Linked DNA regions of Homo sapiens: region 2 is linked to region 1. The links are contacts of gene promoters, found by promoter capture Hi-C in human tissues and cell types (Jung and others, 2019). All regions are on one chromosome and are shown on one strand. The core of a region is centred on a gene start or on the middle of the fragment in contact, and the rest is flanking DNA. Distances in the headings are between cores, read along the strand shown.

What was found. The method cuts DNA at HindIII sites, captures the fragments that hold promoters and counts their contacts. A contact is called where the count stands out against the background at its distance.
Region 2: a contact is called between a fragment that was not itself captured here and the fragment with the promoter of PRX in region 1, in 3 of the 25 tissues and cell types used here (IMR-90 fibroblasts, hippocampus and liver).

The regions. Positions count from the first base shown.
Region 1 is chr19:40,411,943-40,417,822 of GRCh38, forward strand. PRX (periaxin) reads right to left here and starts at 1,436. Exons shown (of 7, transcript NM_181882.3): 1 at 1,396-1,436. RefSeq lists an enhancer at 2,246-2,894. The HindIII fragment of the contact is 14,641 bases long and covers 1-5,880 here.
Region 2 is chr19:40,637,777-40,643,871 of GRCh38, forward strand. No RefSeq gene overlaps it. Among named protein-coding and RNA genes, the nearest start is that of LTBP4, 39 kb to the left of the region's middle. The HindIII fragment of the contact is 3,860 bases long and covers 263-4,122 here.

The DNA.
Region 1 (5,880 bases), core at 186-2,685:
AGATCCTTCCTGTCTTGGCTCCTTAAATCTTTGTAACATCTCCCTGGAGTGGGTACAACTGAGATATCCATTTCAGATGCGACTTATGCCCTTCAGAGCAGCTGGGAGCGAGGGGTTGTCATTCGGAGGCTGCTGAGGGATCGGCTGAGGGCATTGCCCTTCTGGCCCTCTTTCCCTGGTGACTGCCACCAACTTCACTTGGGAACCCTGCCTGCTCAGAGCCTCAGCTTTCCCCCGCCACCAGCGTGATCTCTCATAGCAATGGGGGTCAGGGGTTGGGCTGACTCATCCAGACCTCTAAACATTATCTGAGGCCACCTAGGGGGTCAGGGGGAGTTAAGGCAGTGGCCTCTGGCTGCCTCGGTTAGTCCCTGCTCCAGCACTTCCCAGGTGTGAGGACTTGGGCAAGATCCTTCATCTCTGGGGCCTCAGTTTCTCCATCTGTAAAATGGAGCCAATAAGAAAGGCTTTGAAGATTTGTGAGAGAACAGCAGGTGCTTAGAATATCCCTCCTGTATAGTAAATGCTTGATTAATATAAACTCGTCTCTGACAGCAACAGGGAGAGTATGGAGGGAGGGAGCTGTGCTTCTCACAGTGTTGCACATCCAACCTTTGCTCCTCAGTGGCCCCCACTTTCTCTGCTACCAAAGGGGAGCTTTGGCTGAGAGACAAAACCCAGCTCAGGCACCAGCCTCCCAACAGGATCCATGCTGCCTCCCTAGCACCCTACTCCAGGGACCCACCCCAGGCCTCCTGCCCCAGCTCTGGTGTTTGTTAGTTTGTTTTTTGGAGACAGGGTCTCCCTCTGTCACTGAGACTGGAGTGCAGAGGTGTGATCACGGCTCACTGCAGCCCCAACCTCCTGGGCCCAACCCAATCTCCCATCTCAGCCTCCAGAGTAGCTGGAACCACAGGCATGCACCACCATGCCCAGCTAATTAAAAAAAATTTTTTTTTGTTTTGTAGAGATGGGGGCCTCTCTATGTGGCCCAGGCTGGTCTCGAACTCCTGGGCTTAAGCAGTCCTGCCGCCTCAGCCTCCCAAAGTGCTGGGATTATAGGCATGAGCCACCATGCCTGGCTGCCCTAGCTCTTTAAAAGCAGCAACTCATTTACTCGGCACCAGCCCTGTGAGGTGGCCTCCAGACATCAGCCCATTTTAGAGATGGGGAAACAGAGGCACAAAGGATGAAGTATCTTGCCCAAGGCTGCACAGCCAGAAAGGAGAGGAAAGGGGATTTGAACCACCAGCTCCAAAGTCTATACCTTTAACACCTACACCACACGGCTTCCTGAGCCCCCAGGCCCCCTCCCAGCACCTCCCGGGACCCTGAACCTCATTCCCACAGTGTCTCAGCCTGGCCAGGGAAGGGACCGGCCGGCTGATCTCTTACCGCTGAGCCTCCAGACACCTCGAGAGCTCCTGGTCCCGTCTGTCAGCCCTAGCCCTAGGCTGGGGGGGAAAAGGAATGGGGAGGGGGGAGGAGAGAGAGACCCCAGCCATTGGCTGCGGGGGTGTGACGTCACCAGAGGGTGGGTGGTGGAGAAACAAACATCCCCCTCCTCCAGCTACATCTATCCCCAAGGGGTGGGGGCCACGGGACAGCCACCAGCCGCCTCTCTCTTGCCTGGGCCGAGATCTCTGCCATGAGCTCAGCTTCAAGGATTTGCACGTTGGCTTCCTCGACTTGGAGAATCAGGACCCCACCCCAGCCCCACTGTTTCCTGGCTCCAGGACCCGGGCCTGGCCAACTGCCTCTACTGTAAACTCCTTTCACTCCCTCTCCCTGTCAACTTGGGTTCAAATCGCAGCGCGACCACTTCCTCGCTGGGTGACCTGCTGCCAGTCACAGCTTCTCTTTGCGGATAGTAAGAGTACCCACCTTATGGGGCTGTGGTGAAGATTAAACGAGTTAAAAGAGACTGAAAATGTAAGACAATGCCGGGCACATAATGAGGGTTACTAATAAGTATTTGGTATTATTTTTCACACAAATTAGGTGGCTGGCTCATCTTGCTGGGGGGTTTTGGCCCCTTTTCAGTAAGGCTGGGCACAGGGGACCCCCAGTTCTCTGTCTAATGGAGTTACTGTTTAGGGGGACACCTATCACATACTAAGTACCATGCTCAGTGCTGAAGCCCTGCTTTTGAATCAAGGGTGTAAAATGGGCTCCTTATGCTCCCCACCCTTTTTTTTGAGACAAGGTCTCACTCTGTTGCCCAGGCTGGAGTGCAGTGGTGTGATCATGGCTCACTGCAGCCTCCACCTCCTGGGCTCAAGCAATCCTCCCGACTGAGCCCCCTCAAATAGCTGGGACCACAGGTATGCATCATCATGCCCAGCTAATTTTTGTATTTTTTGTAATGGCAAAGTTTCACCATGTTGCCCAGGCTGGTCTCGAACTCCTGGGCTCAAGCGATCTTCCCACTTCGGCCTCCCAAAGTTCTGGGATTACAGGCGTGAGCCACCGCGTCCAGCTATGCCCAATTTATAGCTATGTGGCCAGGAGGTGGTGAAGCTGAGGTCCAACCCCTGTTCTCCTGGACCACAAAAACCCTGCTACACTCTTCTGCCCCTTCCACTTTGCAGACCAGAAGGCTCAGAGAAGGTAAGTGACTCTCCCAATATCACCATAGCAGGTCATTGGCAGGGGTCCAGAGTTGAACCCAGACCTGCCCGACTCCCAAGCCAAAGCTACCAGGCCTCACCCCCAACCCCTGGACCCTGGTCCAGCCCCCAGCCTGCCCTGACTCACCAGACCCCGGGGGGCGGCACAGGGAGCACAGGTACCCCCACATGCCACTTGAACCCACCCGGCTGCTGCCTCGGAAGCTCGTCGCTCTCTGAACCCAGGCCCCAGGCCTGGGCTGGGCTGAGGCTGGGGGATTACCCCCAAAGCGCATGTCAGCAGCTTCTGCCCCATTGTCCAGCCAGGCACAGACACCAAGCCCTGGCCTCTGTCGGCACCCTCGCCCCTCACACCAGCCTGGGTGGCCCCTCTGCAGACCTGTCCCCCATCTCACACCAGAGGGTTGGGGCCTACTTCAGAGGGCGTGGGGGACCAGGCCAGGATGGCAGGATCCCGGAATGCTGGGGGCCTCCCTCCCTTCTCTCTGAAATGCCCCCTGCCCACTCTCAGCCACCGGGGAAGGCAGGAATGTGCTGAGCTCTGGGAAATGCCTTCCAGGCCTGGCAGCAACCAAGCATTGGGGTGTGGCCAGAAGCCAGCCAGAGCCCTCCTCCCAGGAGGGGTAGAAGGGATGGTATGGTCGGGGCTCCCGATGGGCCTGAGGAGACCCTCACTTCATTGCAGTCTCTCTCCTTCATTGATTCACGCAAACATTCTTTTGTTCCTATATTCATTCAACAAACACTCACAAGCCCTGTTTAGTGGTAGGTCTTTTGCTGGGCACAGGGGACATCAACAGATCTAACTCCACCCCAGGGAGGAGGCGGCAAACTCAGGAAAGGATCCTGCAGGAGGTGATATCGGCAGTCAAACTGAATTAGCCAGGCGTGGTGGCGGGCACCTGTGATCCCAGCTACTCGGGAGGCTGAGCAGGAGAATTGCTTAAACCCAGGAGGCAGAGGTTACAGTGAGGCAAGATTGCGCCATTGCACTCCAGCCTGGGTGACAGAGCGAGACTCTGTCTCAAAAAGAAAATAATAATAAATAATAAAAGGAAGTCAAAATGGAAGATTGAGGAGGAGGGAGCTAAGGAAAAAAGGAGGGAAGGGGGTTCCAGGCAGAGGGACAAATGTGGGCAAAGGACCAGAGGTGAGAAATGGAGCGGGTCTTCATTCACCATCAGCAAACATTCAGTGAGCACCTGGTCTTCTGTCCAGTCCCAGGCTGGATGGTGCTGGGGACACAGTGTGACTGGGACAGCTCAGGCCTGCATCCACACCATTCACAGTCCAGCAGGGAACAAACCCAGAAAGAGGAGGGTTGTGATGGGGCAATCATAGGCAGAGAGGTCAAAGCCTTGATGGGGAAGTCCAGAAAAGGTGGCTGCCCCAGCCTAGGAAGAGAAATCAAGGAGGGCTTCCTGGAGGAAGTGGCATTTGAGCTTGCACCTGGAGGATATATAGAAGTTAACCCAAAGCCATGGGTGGTGAAGGAATGACAGTGTGTTTCAGGTAGCGGGAACACCCTGTGCAAAGGCCCTTTGAGAAAACGGTTAAGGTGAGAGTGTGAGGGAAAGGTAAGAGGAGGTCCAGGGGTCAGCAGGGCCATGAGGAGGGCCTCAGACTTTGTCCTGTGGGCCCTGAAGAGCTATCAGAGGGACAAAGTATGAATAGCACTGAGCTTTTAGGTACCTGAAGGCAGAAAGAGGCTGAGCTATCAGCCAGGCTAGCATAGGGAAGAAAATCCCCCTCTCTCTGCTCAGGGTCAAACAGAAAAGGGAGGCTGGTACACAACATCCCCTCTCTTCCCTTGTCGCAGAGAGCAGAGATCTTTGCTTGTTCTCAGTCTTAGGGGAAAGCATTTAACCTTTTGCCATAAAGTAGGAAGTTAGCGGTCCATGTTTTGTAGATACGCTTTATCAGGTTAAGGAAGCTTCTTTCCCTAGTTTGCTGTGAGTTTTTTGTTTTCTTGTTTTTGAGAGATGCGGGTCTCACTATGTTGCCCAGGCTGGCCTCAAACTCCTGGCCTCAAGCGATCCTCCTGCCTTGGCCTCCCAAAGTGCTGACATTACAGGCATGAGCCACTGTGCCTGGCCTGCTGTGAGTTATTTTCTTTCTTTTTTTTAATTTTTCTTTTGTTTTTTTTTTTTTAGGCAGAGTTTTCGCTCTTTCACCCAGGCTGGAGCAAAGTGGCACAATCTCGGCTCACTGCAACCTTCGCCCCCTGGGTTCAAGAGATTCTCCTGCCTCAGCCTCCCGAGTAGCTGGGATTACAGGCGCCTACCACCACACCCAGCTAATTTTTGTATTTTACACTTGATCTTAGCCAAAAGGCCAAGAAGCAATAATTTTGTATTTTTAGCAGAGATGGGGGTTTCGCCATGTTGGCCAGGCTGGTCTTGAACTCCTGACCTCAGGTAATCCACCCGCCTTGGCCTCTCAAACTGTTGCGGTTACAGGCATGAGTCACCACACCTGGACTGTTGTGAATTCTTATCACGAATGGTGTGTCTCTCTGTGTGTCTCTATCTTTGTGTCTCTCTGTTCTTCTGTTTCTCTCTGTCCTTATTCTTTGTCTCTCTTTCCTAGTTTCTTTCTGTCTCATTCTGTCTGTGCGTTTCTCTCTCCCTCTCTCTCTGTCATGCTTTCCCTCACCCAAGGGGGTGTGGCCACGGGAAGCTAAGTTGGGGGTGGCCCCAGTGTCCTGGTTCCGGCTGTGGCCACCGCAGTAAACACAGGACATCCTGTGAGGCTAGGGAAGGAGGTGGACGCTTCTTCTCAGGGACCACCCTCTCCAGACTCAGTCTGAGCCAAGCAGGAGCCTTGGCCTGCCCTGCGTGGCCTAGCCACTCCGCCCCACCCAGTCCAGCCAAGGGACACTGGTGTCTCCCTCGATCCCACCGTTCACGCCCACCCCCACACCCCAGTCCTCTCTCCTGAGCTCCCGGCCCAGGGCCCGGGCAGCTCCATGCCTTCCCCTGGGTGTCTCCCCAGCCTCTTGCACCCCCTGGGTCCCTCCTTGGCCTCAGCCCCAACCCCAGACTTGCTTCTCTCCCCAGTTGCCATCTCAGGGATGGCCCCAGTGTCTCCCAGTCCCCTGATTAGAGCCCTGAGCCTGGTCTGAGACCCCTCCTCCAGGCCTTGTCAGTCCCACAGCCTGTCTGCTGGGCCTCCTGAGTGCCTCTTCCCTCCCAACAGCTGCTCCGTCCCTCCCCAGATTCTCCACCCCTGGGATCCTGGGCTCCTGGCC
Region 2 (6,095 bases), core at 943-3,442, 230 kb after region 1:
GTGAGCCGAGATGGCGCCACTGCACTCCACCCTGGGTAACAGAGCAAGACTCCAACTCAAAAATAATATGAAATAAAATAAAATCTTAGACAACACTATCATTATAAGTAGGATTGGGGAGATCAAAAACAACATGCTCTGTGCTCCAGGTACTGTTTGGTGTGATGTTGAAAATATTAGATTTTAAACTTGATTTTTTCTTTTTTTTTTTTTTGAGGCAGAGTGTTGCTCTGTCGCCCAGGCTGGAGTGCAGTGGCGTCATCTCGGCTCACTGTAACCTCCGCCTCCTAGGTTCAAGCGACTCTTCTGCCTCAGCCTCCTGAGTAGCTGGGACTACAGGTGTGCGCCACCACACCTGGCTAATTTTTGTATTTTTAGTAGAGACGGGGTTTCACCATATTGGCCAGGCTGATCTCGAACTCCTGACCTCATGATCTGCCCTCCTCGGCCTCCCAAAGTGCTGAGATAACAGGCGTGAGCCACTGCGCCTAGCCTAGACTTGATTTTTTAAATTTCTGTCCTCCAATAGAAATAGACCTGATTTTTAAAAATGTGCATGGCCAGGCACAGTAATTCATGCCTATAATCCTAGGACTTTGGGAGGCCAATGTGGGAGGATCACTTGAGCCCAGGAGTTGGAGATCAACCTGGACAACATAGCTAGACCCTGTCTCTACAAAAATAAAAATATTAGGTGGGTGTGGTCTTGTACACCTGTAGTGCCAGCTACACAGGGGGTTGAGGAGGGAGGATCCATTGAGACCAGGAGTTCCAGCCTGCAACGAGCTAGGATCTCACCACTGCACTGCAGGCTGGGCAACAGAGCAAGACCCTGCCTCAAAAAAAAAAAAAAAAAAAAAAGCATGTTAAAATTTCAAAGATTGCTACAAAAAGAAAGAAATGGTGCATAGATTCCAAACTAGTAGAGGGAAAACAAAGAATAAGAAAACATAAGACAAAACTAAACAAAAAATGCAGCCAATTCAAAGAAGCTTAAATGAGCATGAAAAAATAAATAAACGTAGAAAAATGAGGACACTAGAATCACAAAGCAAAATGGTAGAAGTAAATAAAATACATCATTAATCACATACACAAAAAATGTATTCAGGGCCAGGTATGGTGGCTCACACCTGTAATCCCAGCACTTTGTGAGGCTGGGGCAGACGGATCACTTGAGGCAACAAGTTTGAGACTAGCCTGGCCAACATGGTGAAACCCCATCTCTACCAAAAATACAAAAAAAAAAAAAAAAAAAAAGAAGAAGAAGTTATCCAGGCATTGTGGTGCACGCCTGTAATCCCAGCTACTTGGGAGGCTGAGGTAGGAGAATTGCTTGAATCCAGGAAGTGGAGGTTGCAGTGAGCTCAGATTGCACCACTGCACTCCAGCCTGGGTGACAGAGTGAGACTCCCTCTCAAAAACAAACAAAGAAAAAATGTATTCAGAGGCCAAATACTTCTTACCACCTCCATAGCTGCCACCCATATCTTACCCTCCTCCTAGGGTTTGGAGTTCCTACTCCTGGCCCCACAATCTCTCCCCGTCATGCAGATAGAGGGACTCTGGGAATAACCAAGTCAACTCAACTCCCTCTGCTGCTCAAAACTTTCCTGTGGCTCCATCTCACTCAAAGATTATTTTGCTCATTTTTTTTTTGTTTTTTTTTGAGACAGGGTCTCACTCTGTTGCCCAGGCTGGAGTGCAGTGGTGCAAGTCATGACTCACTGCAGCCTAGACTTCCTCGGCTCAAGCCATCCTCCAGGCCTCCAGGGCTACCACAACCCAGCCAATTTTTTGATAGAGACGAGGCCTCCCTTATTGCCCAAGCTGGTCTTGAACTTATGGGCTCAACTTATCTACCCACCTCGGCCTCCCAAAATGCTGGGATTCCAGGCCTGAGCCACTGTGTTCCGCCAATCTCATTCAAAGTAAGAGCCAAAGTCCTCACTGTGGTCCAGCAGACTCTGCACCGTCTGCTTCTTGTTCCCTCTCTGACCTCACCTCCCCTCCACCCCCCACACGCTCCTCTGCAGCAACACGGATCTCCTTGTTGTTTCTCTAAGATCCAGACATGTTCCCATCCCACCCCAGGACCTTGGCACTGGCTGTTCCCTCTGCCTAGGGGACTCTTTCCACTAGGTTCAGTTTCTCTTTTTTTTTTTTTTTGAGACGGAGTTTTTTCACTCTTGTTGCCCAGACTGGAGTGCAGTGGCACGATCTCGGCTCACAGCAAGCTCCTCCTCTCAGGTTCAGGCAATTCTCCTGCCTCAGCCTCCCGAGTAGCTGGGACTACAGGCACCCGCCACCACCCCCAGCTAATTTTTGTATTATTAGTAGAGACGGGGTTTCACCATGTGGCCAGGCTGGTCTCGAACTGCTGATCTCAAGTGATCCATCTACCTCAGTCTCCCAAAGTGCTGGGATTACAGGTGTGAGCCACCGCGCCTGGCCCCCTTGGCTCAGTCCCTCACCACCAGCAGAAGAATGGATAAACTGATCCCACAGTGGCCTGCAATGTGTGTGTGCTGCAATGAGAATAACCTGTAACTGCACACGACAACCAGGATGAATTTTTTTCACGGTGCTGACTGAAAAAAGCCAGATGCTAAAAAGAACATATTTTCAGATTGCATTTACATGAATTCAAAACAGGCACAACCAATCTATGCTGTCAGAAGTGAGGGTGATAATGACCTTGGAGGGAGGGCAGGTGATAAGGGAGCGCCGAGGGGGCTTCTGGGGGGCTGGAGATATTGCTTCTTGGGCTGGTGGCTGGTGACACAGGTGTGTTCAATCGGTGATAATTCCTCCAGCGGTTACACTTACGGTTTGTACTTTCCTGAATATGGGTCTACTTCAAGAAACCACTGCTGAAAACGAGGAGCTGCACCCACCACCCAGTGTCCCCTCCATCCAGTTTAAGCAACAGGACATTCTCAGCCCCCCGGGGTCCCTCCCTCCCAATGCAATGTGCTTTTATGTCTTCAAGGGGCCTGGCCACCACCTTGGTTGCTTCCCCCAGCTTGCTATGCATGTCACCCCACGCATGTTCCAGGCAGCTCCACAGAGGTCCCCAGAGAGAAGGCAGGCTGTGGGTGGGAGGAAGGGCAGGGGTGGGGGACGTGGCTTCCCAGCGGAGCCCGGGCAGGGGGAGGAAACATTTCTGCAACACCCCACACCAAGTCCTGACTTCGGGGGGGCTTTGCAGGGTGAATTCTAAGTGCCCAGGGCCCCATGTGAAGGGGTCAACTGTGTCTCACTCTGTGTCTGTCTCTCTGTCTGTCTCTCTTCCTGTTTCCTCCCTCCCTCCCAGTCTCTCTCTCCTCAAGAAGAAAAAAACTCACAACTATTTACATAACAATTTTATATCAGACTGTAACCCAAAAACCCAAGTTCCAACTTCGAATTTTTCAATAAACTTTGAATAAATAGTAGTGCTATTTTTCTTTCTTTTTTTTTTTAGTACTGTAATGTTTACTTTTAAATTTAATTTTTACTGGCAGACTTTACGTATATGAGGTTCAAGAAAAGAAAATCTCCACTGTTTACATTTCTTTTCTGACTATTAATATTGTTCATTTCATTTCCTGATTATTACTGGCAATAATTTTGTCCTATGGGGAAGGGAGGCGCTTGGCAGGCCTCGAGTTATCCTTTGAGACATGGGGGTCTGTGGTCAGATTTAGAAAGTGCTTGTGGGTGGCTGGGTGGGAGTGGGTCATGGGAGACATAAGGGCAGGCTGGAGTCCAGGGAGGAGGCCGGCCGGGCAGGGACCCAGGCAGCGGAGATGGACAGGGCCATGGAGAATCTGGGAGGCGCAGGCCCTGGGGACTGTGGATTGGGGAAGGAGATAATTTTATTTTATTATATTTTTTTGAGACAGAGTTTCAGTCTGTCTCCAAGACTGTAGTGCAATGGCACGATCTCTGCTCACTGCAACCTCTGCCTCCCGAGTTCAAGGGATTTTCCTGCCTCAGCCTCCCAAGTAGCTGGGATTACAGGCACGCACCCTCACACCCAGCTAATTTTTAATATTTTTGGTAGAGACGGGGTTTCACCATATTGGCCAGGCTGGTCTCATACTCCTGACCTCAAGCGATCCACCTGCCCCGGCCTCCCAAAGTGCTGGGATTACAGGCATGAGCCACGACGTCTGGCCTAATTTTTTGTATTTTTAGGAGAGACAGGGTTTTGCCATGTTGGCCAGGCTAGTCTTGAACTCCTGGCCTCAAGTGATCCGCACACCTCAACCTCCCAAAGTGCTGGGATTACAGGTGTGAGCCACTACGCCCCGCCAAGGGAAGGGGAGAATTTGAGTGCTATTGAAGGTAGAAAACACAGAACATAGGCTGGGTGTGGTGGCTCATATCTCTAATCCCAGCACTTTGGGAGGCCAAAGTGGGAGGCTGGCTTAATCCCAGGAGTTCGAGATCAGCCTGGGCAACATAGTGAGACCCCTGTCTCTACAAAAAATTAAAAATTAGCCAGGCATGGTGGCACCCACCTGTACTCCCAAGGCTACTTAGGAGGCTGAGGTGGGAGGATCGCTGGATCCCAGGAGATCTGAGGTGAGCCGTGATCATGCCACTGCACTCCAGCCTGGGCAGCAGAGTAAGACCCTGTCTCCAAAAATAAAAAATAATTTAAAATAAAGCGCGGAACACTGTCAGGTTGTCTGTGGGGGAGCAGCGGGCAGGCGACCAGGAGGGCTGGCTGCTCTGTGCAGGGCTAGTGCCTGGGTTGGGATGACTCGGCCTCAGAGCTGTAAATAAAGAAGGAAGAGGGCCGGGCGCGGTGGTTCACGCCTGTAATCCCAGCACTTTGGGAGGGCGAGGTGGACTAATCACCTGAGGTCGGGAGTTCGAGACAAGTCTGACCAACATAGAGAAATCCCATCTCTGCTAAAAATACAAAATTAGCCGGGTGTGGTGGCACATGCCTGTAATCCCAGCTACTCGGGAGGCTGAGGCAGGAGAATCGCTTGAACCCGGGAGGCAGAGATCACAGTAAGCCGAGATCACAACACTGCACTCTAGCCTGGGCAGCAAGAACAAAACTCCATCTCGAAAAAAAAAAAAAAAAAGTAGAAGAAAGAAAGAGCTGCCACAGTTGAGAGCTTCCTGGATGCCTTTGTTAACTCTTGGGGTTTTCACATACCCATCTTACAGATGGGGAAGCTGAGGCTCAGAGAGAGGAAGGCCCAAGTGGAAGAGCAAGCCTGGAGCCCAGGTCTCCTCCTGCCTAATCCTGGGCTTTTGCTGGTGGACTCCCGCCCAATCTTGAATAACTTCAGGCCTTAAACAACCTCCCACGATTGCTTTTCCTCCCATTAGAACAATAAATGCAGATACAAAAACCAACTATGCTTGTCTACAAAGCCCAAGAGAATTTTTGAAGTAATAAAACTGTCATGAATGCAGACTGTGGTGATTACATGACTTACGAATTTTTCAAAACTCAGAATCGAGCCAGATGAAATGATCCTGCCTGCAATCCCAGCACTTTGGGAGGCTATGGCAGGAGGATCATTTGAGGCCAGGAGTTCAAGACCAGCCTGGCCAACATGGTGAAACCCCGTCTCTACTAAAAATACAAAAATTAGCTGGGTGTGGAGGCACATGCCTGTAATCCCAGCTATTTCAGCAGCTAAGGCAAGAAAATTGTTTGAACCCGGAGGCTGAGGTTGCAGTGAGAAATGATCGTGCCACTGCACTGTAGACCCTGTCTCAAAAACCAAAACCAAAACCAAAAAAAGAAAAAAAAACCCTTAAGAATCAGGATTATACACGAGCACACGCACACTCACCCATAAATTTTACCATTTGTAGAAAAGAAGAAGAAAATTCAAAACCAAATACAATGAATGTACTTTCTCTGGATTCCAATTCACACCAAACAACTGTAAAAATCTGTTTTTGAGACAATTGGGGAACACAAACTGGCTTTTAGGAGATATTAAGGAATTTCGGTTAATTATGCTAGACTTGATAATGCCATTGTGGTTGGGTAATGCCCACATACCATGCCTTGGCTGGGCGTGGTGACTCACACCTGTAGTCCCAGCATTTTGGGAGGCCCAGATGGGAGGATT